2 separate regions of the Homo sapiens genome follow, and region 2 is linked to region 1. The links are contacts of gene promoters, found by promoter capture Hi-C in blood cells and fetal thymus (Javierre and others, 2016). All regions are on one chromosome and are shown on one strand. The core of a region is centred on a gene start or on the middle of the fragment in contact, and the rest is flanking DNA. Distances in the headings are between cores, read along the strand shown.

What was found. Contacts are between HindIII fragments. The CHiCAGO score rates a contact against its expected background, and 5 or more counts as called.
Region 2: a contact is called between a fragment that was not itself captured here and the fragment with the promoter of VPS13D in region 1, in 2 of 17 cell types (activated CD4 T cells and naive CD8 T cells). The highest score is 6.1, in activated CD4 T cells.

The regions. Positions count from the first base shown.
Region 1 is chr1:12,226,957-12,232,976 of GRCh38, forward strand. VPS13D (vacuolar protein sorting 13 homolog D) reads left to right here and starts at 3,074. Exons shown (of 70, transcript NM_015378.4): 1 at 3,074-3,164. RefSeq lists an enhancer at 2,823-3,753 and silencers at 2,899-3,428, 2,965-3,133. The HindIII fragment of the contact is 6,412 bases long and covers 1,276-6,020 here.
Region 2 is chr1:12,082,917-12,088,936 of GRCh38, forward strand. TNFRSF8 (TNF receptor superfamily member 8) reads left to right here. Exons shown (of 15, transcript NM_001243.5): 2 at 1,548-1,635. Among named protein-coding and RNA genes, the nearest start is that of TNFRSF8, 23 kb to the left of the region's middle. RefSeq lists enhancers at 4,724-4,833, 4,854-5,193. The HindIII fragment of the contact is 7,646 bases long and covers 1-6,020 here.

The DNA.
Region 1 (6,020 bases), core at 1,824-4,323:
CATCTCTACTAAAAATACAAAAATTAGCCGGGCGTGGTGGTGCACGTCGGGAATCCCAGCTACTCGGGAGGCTGAGGCATGAGAATCACTTGAACCTGGGAGGCAGAGGCTGCAGTGAGCCGAGATTGTGCCACTGCACTCCAGCCTGGGCGACAGAGTAAGATTGTCTCAAACAAACAAACAAACAAACAAACAAAACCCCCCAAATCAGCTGGGTGTGGTAGTGCATCTGTAGCCTGTAGTTCCTCTGACAGTTTTGTCTTTTCTGGAATTTCACAGAAATGAAATCACTACGGTATGTGGTCTTTTTCCACATAGCTAATACTTTTGAGGTTCCTCCAGATCGTGCCTGCGTCAGCCCTACTCACCTTTTTGTTGGTGAGTAGTGCTCCATTGTATGACTATGTTGCAATTTGTTTGTCCACTCTCCTGTTGATGGACATTTTGATTGTTTTTTTTTGTTTCTGGCTTTTATGAATAAAGCTGCTATGAGTGTTCATGTATAAGTCTTGGTGTGGGCATATGTTTTAATTTCTCTTGGCTAATATCTAGCAGTGGGATTGCTGTATGGTAAATGTATATTTAAACATTTATAGGAAACTGGGGGCACGAAGACTTTCAGTAATACTGGTCGAATCAATGGTGCCCAGGAATTTGCATTTTTGAGACAGGGTCTCTGTTGCGCAGGTTGGAGTGCACAGGCATGATCATTGCTCACTGTAACCTTGAACTCATGGGCTCAAGCAATCCTCCTCCCAGTAGTTGGGAGTACAGGCATGTGCCACCGTGCCCAGCTAATTTTTTCATTTATAATTTTTTGTAGAGATTGGGGTCTCCTTATGTTGCACAGGCTGGTCTTGAATTCCTGGCCTCAAAAAATCCCCCCCACTGCCTTGGCCTCCCAAAGTGCTAGGATTACTGGTGTGAGCCACGGTGCCAGGCCATGTGCAGTATTTTTTTGGATTTTTTTTGAGATGGAGTCTTGCTCTGTTGCCGAGGCTGGAGTGCAATGGCGAGATCTCGGCTCACTGCAACCTCTGCCTCCTGGGTTCAAGCAATTCTCCTGCCTTAGCCAGGAGAGTAGCTGGGATTACAGGCACCTGTGACCATGCCCGGCTAATTTTTGTATTTTTAGTAGAGATGGGGTTTTGCCAAGTTGGTCAGGCTGGTCCTGAACTCCTGACCTCAGGTGATCCACCCACATCTGCCTCCCAAAGTGCTGAGATTACAGGCATGAGCCACCGCGCCTGGCCTGGGCCATGTGCATTTCTAACAAGCTTCCCAGGTACAGCCAATTGTCTGTGCTAGGTGATCTGGACTTCGAGGTCCTTCACCTCTGAAGGACTGCCTTCCTTCCTCCTTCTGTCTGTGGAGTTCCAGGTTTTACTCCCAAACCTCAGCCCCAGAGGAGACCCAGCATCCAGATTCTGAGAGGTTGATCCCACCATACAGGAACCCCAGTCTTGCTCAGGAGTGAGTCAGCCCAACATGCACCCTCATTAGCTTAGCATCATGAGGGTTGGTAATTATTATGGTAAATACATGATTGTAACCTTGCCGTTCTGCTTCCTGCATCTTCTAATTTATATGAGCCTGAGGTCTCCCTCTTGCCCTTCTTGTGATAATGCAAGGAGGAAGTGTTCAGCTGTTCATTCATACACACTCATTGAGTCTTTTCTGTGCTAGGCAATGTCTAGGTGTTGAAGAAACACTGTGAAAGGGATAAAATCTCTGTTTTCAAGGTACTGGGGAAAGAACAACATATGTATAAACAAACAAGATAATCTCAGGGAGTATTAGGTTCCATGAATAAAATACAACAGGGTAATGGATAATGGAACTTTATTTTTATTTTCATTTTTGAGAGGGAGTCTCACTCTGTCTGGAGTGCAGAGGGGTGATCTCGGCTGACTGCAACCTCCGCCTCCCGGGTTCAAGTGATTCTCCTGCCTCAGCTTCCCCAGTAGCTGGGACTACAGGTGTGCACTACCACGCCCGGCTAATTTTTGTAGTTTTAGTAGAGATGGGGTTTCACTATGTTGGCCAGGCTGGTCTCAAACTCCTGACTTCAGTGATCCGCCCGCCTCAGCCTCCTGAAGTGCTGGGATTACAGGCATGAGCCACTGTGCCCAGCTCATAATGGAACCGTAGATAGGCACAAGTCCTCTCTGAGTGGAATATTTGAAGCCAGAGGGAGTCAGCTATACGAATATCCAGAGCTATTCTGTAGCTCTGGATTGGCCACAAGAGGGTATTGAGCACTGGAATTCTGGCTAGTTTGTACTGAGATGCGCAGTAAATGTAAAATATACCCGAATTTCAAAAACTTACTATAAAAAAGTTAACATATTGTATTAGTAATTTTTTCTTTTGGCGACATGTTGAGATGATCATATTTTGAACATATTGGATTAAATATATTAAAATGAAGTTCATTTTCTTCTTTTTCGTTTAAAAAAAATGTACTAGCTAGTAAATGTGGATTGCCTATGTGGCTGGCATTGTGTTTCTATTGGTCTGAGGAGAAGGGTCCTAGGTAGAGACAACGGCAAAGGTACAGTTCCTGGGGCAGAAACTGAAGGATGCTGAGGCAGAGTCGGCCGGGGAAAAAGTGGCTGAAATGGGAAGGGACCAGATCCAGTGGGACCTTGGTGGCAGCTCTGTAAGGAGGTGGGTTTTAACTGAAGTACGGTGGGGACGCCGTTTTAAGCAGGGAAGGGCAGGGTCTGAATTAACAGGCCCCTGTGGCTGCGAAGTGGGGAACGGACTGTGGGTGAGTGGGCCAGACGGACGGCCAATCGCACCTTTCGCTTGGATGGAAGGCAGGGTGGTTGTAGGTGGGAAGAATCCTGGGTTCCCATGCTGTCTGAACCAGAGTCATTTGTGGCCCTGCCCTCCCCTGGGACTCAATTTCCCCACCTATAAAATAAGCCCCAGTGTCCGCGAACCCTGGAGGGGCCCGCACCACTGCAGGAGCGGCCGCCGGCGCCAGGGGGCGCCTCCTCGATAACTCGGCGCTCGGCTGGCCAGGCACCGGCGCGTCGGCCGCTCGATTGGTCGGGTCGGGGCCGGCCTGAGCGCCGCGGGCCTGCGCCATTGAGGAGCGGCGGGGAGGAAACGCCGCGCAGCGCCGGGCTGGGGCGGGCGGCCCGGGACACCGACAGGTAGGGGCCGAGCGGCTCCGTGCCGGGCGGGGCCAGGGTCGGGAACTGCAGGGCCGGCGCGGACCCGCGGGCCGCCGCTAGGGCTCCGCCTGGACATGGGGGCCCGGGCCCACCCTGGGGAGAGCGATGCTAGGAGCCTGGGGGCCCCGTCGTCCGGCCTCGGTCTGAGCCCCTCGGGGTAACCCTGGGCGTCTGCTCCCCCCGGGCCCCAAGCCCGCCACCTCCGGGGACCCCTGCGTCCGAGTCCCCGCGAGCTCCCCAAGCACAGGCTCGGGGCTGGCTGAACCTCTGGGAACCCCGACGTCCGTGTCCTGGGGAGCCCGAGCCCCCGCTGGACCCCGGCACACTTTCCGGGGTCCCAGCAGCCTGGCGCCCTGGAATTGGGGGGTGTCAGTCCGCGCCTGTCCGCCTGAGCCTTGGTCTCAATGCAGGACCCCAGTGTGCGAGCCCCCCACATTACGCCGAAGAGTGGGGTGTCAGTTCTCTAGAATGCCTTAGCCACCTCCCTTAATCAGCCACCCGAGGTCACACTCTCGCGTGGAGACATCAGGCCTAAAACCTCTCTTTACCTTTTGCCCCCCAGGGTCACGCCCTGGCCCAGCCACTCCTCCTAGGTGTGGGATGCCAGACATCAGGCCTAAAACCTCTCTTTACCTTTTACCCCCCAGGGTCACGCCCTGGCCCAGCCACTCCTCCTAGGTATGGGATCCCGGCGCCGTTCCCTCCAGGTTTTACTTGGGTGGTGGGGTCTCTGTCCCCTGGAGGGGGCTGAGGGTTCCGAGAGCTGGGGGCGGGAGGGTTGTGGGAGCGTCGCCTTCCGGGCAGTGCCGTTCCTGTGGGGCCACCGGTCGCACAGCCGTCCCCGCCCCGGTTTTGGAGCTCCCTGGCGCCGGCAGCGTTCAGCCCTGGCCGCCTCGGGGAGGGACGCCCAGGTCCGGTTGCCAGTCCTTCCTATTCCCGGTCTGGCCGCTCCTCAGGGGAGGGGCCTGGCTCAAGGTCATGCCCGGCTGTCTGCCCGCCCGTGGGCTCAGCACTGATCCCTACTGTCACCCGCCCCACTGGGTAGGGGAGCCCAGGTGGGGGTTAGTGCCAGTGCCAGGCAGCTGCCTAGAAGTCCTGATGGACCGGAGTGTAAACACTTTGGGACTCTGGCCAGTCTGGCGGCCCTTGCTGACACTGAATTCCTTCAGGGAATCCTTGAAGTGGCCTCAAGCACGGTCTAGATGCTTAGCAGAGCAAATAATGGGTGCTTTCTGGTTTGGGCCTCAATGTTACTGACCAGGTTGCCTCACAATGCTAATCACTCATGCTTTTAAAATCTGTGCTTTGCATTCTTTTCCGTTTAGGGCAAGTAGGGTAGGGCCTGAACTTGTTTACAAACTGACAGTTGTTTCCCTTGATTTGGAGATAATTGGTAATTGGCACTCAGAGTTGGCATTTAGGGCCGAAATTAGTGGCAATAACTACAAAAATAAAGAGTACTCTGACCTTGGCTTCTTGCTCAAATTTGTTTGGAGTCCCCATAGTAAGATTAGTCAGTTTCACATTTGGTTTTCACAAATTTACTCCTTTCAAGTTATAATAGTGGCCGGGCACGGTGGCTCACGCCTGTAATCCCAGCACTTTGGGAGGCCAAAGTGGGCAGATCGCTTAAGGTCAGGATTTCAGACCAGCCTGGCCAACATGATGAAACCCTGTCTCTACCAAAAATACAAAACTTAGCCGGGGATGGTGGCAGGTGCCTGTAATCCCAGCTACTCAGGAGGCAGAGGTAGGAGAATCGCTTGAACCCAGGAGATGGCGGTTGCAGTGAGCCGAGATCCGAGATCCCGTCACTGCACTCCAGCCTGGGCGAGGGAGCAACACTCTGTCTCCAGAAAAAAAAGTTACAATAGAGAAATGTTTCTTTTATTCAGACTGTTGAGCATTTTTTTTAAAAAATTGTTCTTATAACATCTTCTTTAAACAAATGTAGCTAATAATTAGTTTTATGTAACTCTACCCTTAAAAAATATCTTTATATTCCATTTGCAGAAAAAAAAATCTTTGGAAAGAAATTGGTCAAATATTTTACCAAATGCTGTTTTTTTCTTTTTGCTGTCACTGTTGACCAATAAAAGTTAATCTTCTCTGGAAGTACAAGATATTGTTGACAAACAAAAGCCAGTTTTTCCAGGAGATTGAATTCATTCTTGTGGAGGCCTTGTGCTTCAGGTAGTTGTTGGATGGCAGCCTCTCAGTTGGGATAGGTGTATCTTCTGGCACTAAGATGAATCACTAGAGGTGGGGCAGCGTGCTTGGAGAGGATCCTGAAAGTAGGCTGGCTCCAGTGGGATGCGTGCCATGGCAAGTCTGTAGTGCCTGGCAGGGTGGCTGATGACTGACATGGTGGATCAGAACAAGATTTGAGGCTCACAGTTTCCACTGGGATCTTCTAGTTGAGCAATCTCAGAACCCAGTTAAACTTTTGTGTCTCAGTTTCCCTCATGTTGACTTTTTGTAATACTAAAATTAGTCTTTTTTTTTTTTTTTTTTTTTTTTTGGTAATACTGGTAAACACCAGTTATTATAACAGGCAGTAGTACCTACAAAATCTAAATACCGTGGCTGGAGCCAGAGGATTTCTGGAGTTTGGGGTTTGTAATAATCGACTAAGATTGTTCATTGTATCAGCGTCATCTGGTGCCCAGGTACCAGTAATGCAGTTCCAGGACATTTAAGAACAGTGATAAAGCACTGTCGCCTCTCTCCCATGTATATTATTTTATAAGTGATCCTCATGAACAAATTTGAGACATTTAATTTGGGCGGCCTAAATGAGGATCATTAAAGAATGTGAATTCTCCCCCCACCCCC
Region 2 (6,020 bases), core at 1,404-3,903, 140 kb before region 1:
GCCGTGTATCTAGAATATGTAAAGAACCCTACACATCAATAAGAAAAGCCAGACAACCCAATTAAAAAAAAATGGCCACAAGACCTGAATAGGCATCTTACAAAAAAGAATGCCTAAATGGTTAATAAATGTGGGAAAAGGTGCCCAACAACATTACTTATCAGAGAAATGCAAATAAAAACCACAATGAGGTATCACTACAGATCCAACAAGATGGCTAAACTTTTAAAAACTGATACCACCAAGTGCTGACAAGGATGTGGAGCAATTGGAATCCTCAGACACTGCAGGGAAGTGCCTACTAGTACGACTACTTTAGAAGCCTGGATGGAGAATCTATCAGAACTGAACATGCCTTATGCCCCAGCAGTTCCACTCCTAGGTATATAGCCAACAAAAGCGTGTACGTTTGGACACTAAAACGTGTGTACAGGAATGTTCCCAGCAGCACTATCATAATAACCAAAAAGTGGAATGTCTATCGAGAGCAGGCCCGGAGTGGTGGCTCATACCTGTAATCCCAGCACTTTGGGAGGCCAAGGCGGGTGGATCATTTGAGGTCAGGAATTCAAGACCAGCCTGACCAACATGGTGAAACTCTCTCTGCTAAAAATACAAAAACTAGCTGGGCATGGTGGCACACACCTGTAGTCTCAGTTACTTGGCAGGCTGAGGCACAAGAATCATTTAAGCCCAGGAGGTGGAGGCTGCAGTGAGTTGAGATTGCACCACTGCACTCCAACCTGGGCAATAGAGCAAGACTCTGTCTCAACAAATTAAAAAAAAGAGAGTAGACTAGACAAATAAATTGTGCATATTTGTGTGATGCTATACTGCAAAGCAATGGACAGAAATGAGCAACTGTTATTTGCAACAGTGCGAATGATTCTCACAATATAATGCTGAATTAAAGAGGCCGATTGCAGGGGAATGGACTGCGTAATTCTACTTTATGTAAAATCCAAAAGCAGTCAACACTAATAGAGCGATAGAAATCAGCCTTTTGGGAGGAGTGTGTGGGAGGGGGGATGACGGAGGAGCTGGGGCTGGCAAGGTCCCATTTGATGAGTTGGGTGCTGATTGCCTGGTGCGTTCATCTTGTAAAAATGCAGTTGGCTGTAACTTGAGATCTGTGCACTTTTTTGTACGGGTGTGTTAGACTTCAACAAATACGTTTACCAGAAATTTGTATTGTTGGGCCCATCCCAGAGACAAGGTAGGAAGCAATTATGTTAATCCCAGGGCAAGGGGATGGTGACTAGCCCCAGGTGAAGGTGGTGATGATTATGGTATGAAAAGGGCCAGGAGAATTTGCTGATAGGTTGTTTGAGAGGAGAGAGTCAAGGGAGACGCTAAAGTTTCTGGCCTGAGCTGGAGTAGCAGGGGGAAGCGTAAGGGCGGTGTGGGTTTGTGGAATCAGGAGTTCTCGTCCTGATTTCTCTCCTATATTACAAAGCTCCGTCTCAGGCCTCCTGGGACTGGTGGGGACAGAGGGAGTATGGATATCTGGGATCCACCTGGCCTCACCAGCTTTTCTGACCTGCCAGGATCGACCCTTCGAGGACACCTGTCATGGAAACCCCAGCCACTACTATGACAAGGCTGTCAGGAGGTGCTGTTACCGCTGCCCCATGGGTGAGTGGGGGCGTTGGGGGTGGGGAGAAGGGGGGAAATTTGTCCTCAATTGATGACCCTCTTGGGGGATTGATGAGTGGGGAAATTGGAGCCAACCGTCATCGTCATAATTGGCTACAGTTTTCTGCAGGTCATTCCTAGTGTCGCGGAGTCCAAGGACTCTCTCGGAAGGCTAGGGCTGTAGAATTGAGACTGTGTTTCTTGCTGCCACCAGAATGTCCATCTCCATGAGTTTTTATTTTTAACGTAGAGCTGCCCTTTATTGGACACTTACTATCCATGAGTCCGAGACCTTTATATGCACGGCATCATCTCATTAAGTGCTTGCAATGATCCTTTATTACACTCAATTTGCAGATGAGGCTACTGGGGCTTGGCAGGGTTAAGTTCCAGCTACTTCCCTTGATGACCAGGGTCACACAGTTGGGAAATGGTGGAATGATCAGGGCTGGGGCCCAGGGCTCAGAGACCTCAAAGCCTGGGCTGTCAACATCCTCTGACCACCCTTCATTTCTGGGGCCCAGAAGTCCTTTGCAGTTCTTTCTTTTCTCTCTTATTTTTATTTTTATTTTTTTTGAGATGGAGTTTTGCTCTTGTTGCCCAGGCTGGAGTGCAATGGTGCAATCTCGGCTCACTGCAACCTCCACCTCCCGGGTTCAAGCGATTCTCCTGACTCAGCTTCCCAAGTAGCTGGGATTACCGGCATGCACCACCACACCTGGCTAATTTTGTATTTTTAGTAGAGACAGGGTTTCGCCATATTGGCCAGGCTGGTCTCAAACTCCTGACCTCAGGTGATCCACCCGCCTCAGCCTCCCAAAGTGCTGGGATTACAGGCATGAACCAACGTGCCCGGCCTAATTTTTTTATATTAATTTAAAATAGAGACAAAGTCTCGCTATATTGCACAGGCTGGTCTTGAGCTCCTGGGCTCAATTAGTCCTCCTGCCTCAGCCTCCCAAAGCACTGGGATTACAGGCATGAGCCTCCATGCCTGGCCTCTTTGCCGTTCTTGACTGCCCCAGCTCAGGACAGGTGTTTATCCTGGGACAACCTGGACAATAGATTTCTCTGAGACCAGTCTCCCAGACCAGAGCTCCCTTTCTGGAATGTTCCCCCACCCCCAGCACCGTGATTGACTTCTAGTCAATTACCAGGAAATCCTTCTGGAGCTGGGGTGAGTGTTGTTCCTTCCATTTTGTAGATGATGCTTAGGCCCGAGGAGATAAGCAGCTGGAATAGGGTCATGAGGCATTTCTGCCCCTGTGGTTATTATCAAAAGTCCCAAGGCACCACCAGTGGTCTTAGATGGGCGGGGCAGGACATAACGATGCCCTCGTGGTCTCTGACCTCCAGGAACAGAGATTGTCACGGGGACATCAGCCTTTAGCTGTGCCAGCAAGGGTGGGAGGGAGTCTGTGTGTGTCTGGTTCATCATCGCCACTTCTTGCTTTGAGGACAGCAGGCCATTGCAAGTGGGCGGGCATCGTCTGGAGGGCTTCCGACAGTGGGGGCGGAGGGGCCCATCCACCCAGCTGTACTGTCTGGAGGGTGGTGACAGGTTATGGCCATCAGGGCTATTCCACTGGAGCTGCGCGGGAACCCAGGTCAGTCAGTTCCTAGACTTGTGGCCTCAACTCCCCCATGAGATGCAGACCAGGCTCGTGCTCAGGCCACCAAAGGACAGAGGGAAACATTCTTGGAAAGAATTTGATGTTTTTGTATTTGATTTTGATTTGTATTTCCAACAATGATTCAAAGTATTCATTGTATGGGCAAAAGTAGTGGGTTGGATGCTATTGGACTTTCTTGCTTTTATTTTTGGTTTAGTGTTGATTTTGAATGATCTATTAGGTGGGTCCCCTGGTTTTTTCAGTGCTTCACTGGTCGGCCATCCACCCACCCATCCAAGTACCTGCCCCCCTCACCCACCCACCCATCCAAGTACCTGCCCACCCACCCATCTTTTTAACCACTCACCAACCCACCCCTCCCATCCCCTTTCCATTTTTCTTCCCATCTAGCCACTATCCATCCATCCATCTGTATTAGTTTGCTGGGGCTGCCATAACAAAATACTGTAGTCTGGGTGACCTAAACAATAGACATTTATTTCTTACAGTTCTGGAGGCTTGAAGGTCCAAGATCAAGGTTTTTGGAGGATTTGGTTTCTGGTGAGGGCTGTCTTCTTGGCTTGCAGATGGCAGTCTTCTCATGGTGGGAAGATCGATCTCTCTCTCTCTTTCTCTCTCTTTCCCCCTCTTCATATATGCCACCAATCCCCCTGGATTAGGGCCCCATCCTTATGACCTCATTTAACCTTAATTATCTCCTAAAAGTCCTATCTCCAAATACAGTCACACTGGGGTTAGGGTTTCAACACATTTAACATATGAACTTTGTGGGGGACACAATTCAGTCCATAGCACCATCGCCTTCCCATATCCCTCCAATTATCCTCCCATTCACCGCCCCCATCCATACACCCACCCCTCTCCTGGCCATTTTCTCATCTACCTTTCTATCCATCCATCCATCCATCCATCCATCCATCCATCCATCCATCCATCCATCCATCATCCATCCAACAAATTTTTATTTCTCTCTCTCTCTCTTTTTTTTTTTTTTTTTTTTGAGATAGAGTCTGTCTCTGTAGTCCAGGCTGGAGTACGGTGGTGTGATCTTGGCTCACTGGAACCTCCGCCTCCTAGGTTCAAGCAATTCTCTTGCCTCAGCCTCCTGAGTAGCTGGGATTACAGGCATGTGCCACCACACCCAGCTAGTTTTTGTATTTTTAGTAGAGATGGGGTTTCACCGTGTTGGCCAGGCTGGTCTTCAACTCCTGACCTCCAGTGGTCTGCCCGCCTTGGCCTCATAAAGTGCTGGGATTACAGGCATGAGCCACTGTGCCAGGCCTAGTTTCTGGGCCTTTGGACATGCCTGTCCCCATGTGGGATGCCCTCCCCTCCGTCCCTACCTGCTGCAATTCTGGAACCCCTTCCTCCATGAGGCCTTCCCTTGCTAGCCTGATGGTTGGTGGTGGTTCCCACTCAGTTCTCTCAGGGCCCGCTTGCTGTGGTTTTTATCCTCTGGAATGGAGTGGCCCACAGTGTTCTATGACTTTTCATGGGACCCACAATCCCAGCCACAAGGAGAAAGACACTTCCTTCTCATCCTCTTCTGGCCCCTTTGACTCCAGCCTGAAAGGGCCTTGATGGGGAGTGGGTGGAGAGAAAAATGACATCTCAGGTCCCAGGCTCCCTCCACTTAAAAGCTGTGACTTAGGAAGAGGGGGCTCCCTCCTCCCCACTTCCCCTCTCTAAGGCCCAGTGCTGGCTGGGGCTGAATACTCCATATTGGTGTGGTGGGTGGGGCATTTTACTGGTGTTTTATTGACCTTGTGCTTCCGTGTAGCCAGAGAAGAAAAAAGAAAAACCCACAAAAACCCCTTCTTTGATCTCTCGGGGAAATTTCTTGACATTTTGCCTGCCCTGTGCAGCCAGCACTCAGCTGTGTGGCCGGGTTTGCTTGTGGGCGGGTTGGTGGAGGAAGGAAGCTGAGGGACCTTTGAGATTGAAAAATGTAGATGTCATCGAATCCCTCCTTGCACCCAGGCCTGTGATGCCCTCTCCAGCATTCCTGAGAGCAGGTCCCCAGCCCTTTGCTTACATACTCTTGGTGACGGGGAGCTCATTCACTGACTCATAACAATGACCACGATTCATACCGATGGAGCACGCTATGTGCTGGCCACTGTGCTGGGCCCTTTACCGACCTTAAGTTCCTTCAATCCTGATAAGAAATCCAGAGAGGAAACTTGGACACCGAGGGGTTCAGGAATTTGCACAAGGCCACATGCGTATCAGTGGCTCAGCCGGGCCGTGAACATGACCACCGAGTGCAGTCTCCTGAGCTCTTCAACTGTAGTTGATACTGACCCTCAAGGCCTCGAATTTGGGAGGCAGAAGAGTTTACGAGTGAAGAGCTAATGCGGGGGCTACAAAGCCCTTCCTGTTCTCCATCTTCCTGGACTACCCTCTCTTTGTGTGCAGACTCGCTCCCCACAGGAAGGGGTCTCTCCTGCAGATGTTTGAGGCCTGCCCAGGTTCAGGGGAAGGATGTGAGGCCAGGCCAAGTGTTAGGTAGGGAGCATGGCAGGTGTATCCCATCTTGTCCCAGGAGCTGAGGGTTCCTCCGAAGGCTGTGAACAGGAAGGAGGAGGAGGAGGGGGTTTGTGGGTTCCCCCAGCTTCCGCTGCCCTTGGGTAAAGCTCAGCTTTGTGCATGGGCACGCCCATTTGGCATGACAGCTGCTGCCCCTGCCGCCTCCCCCTCCCCCGCCCAGTCCCTCTTCATCCTGGGCTTCAGCTGAGTGTGCTGGGCTCC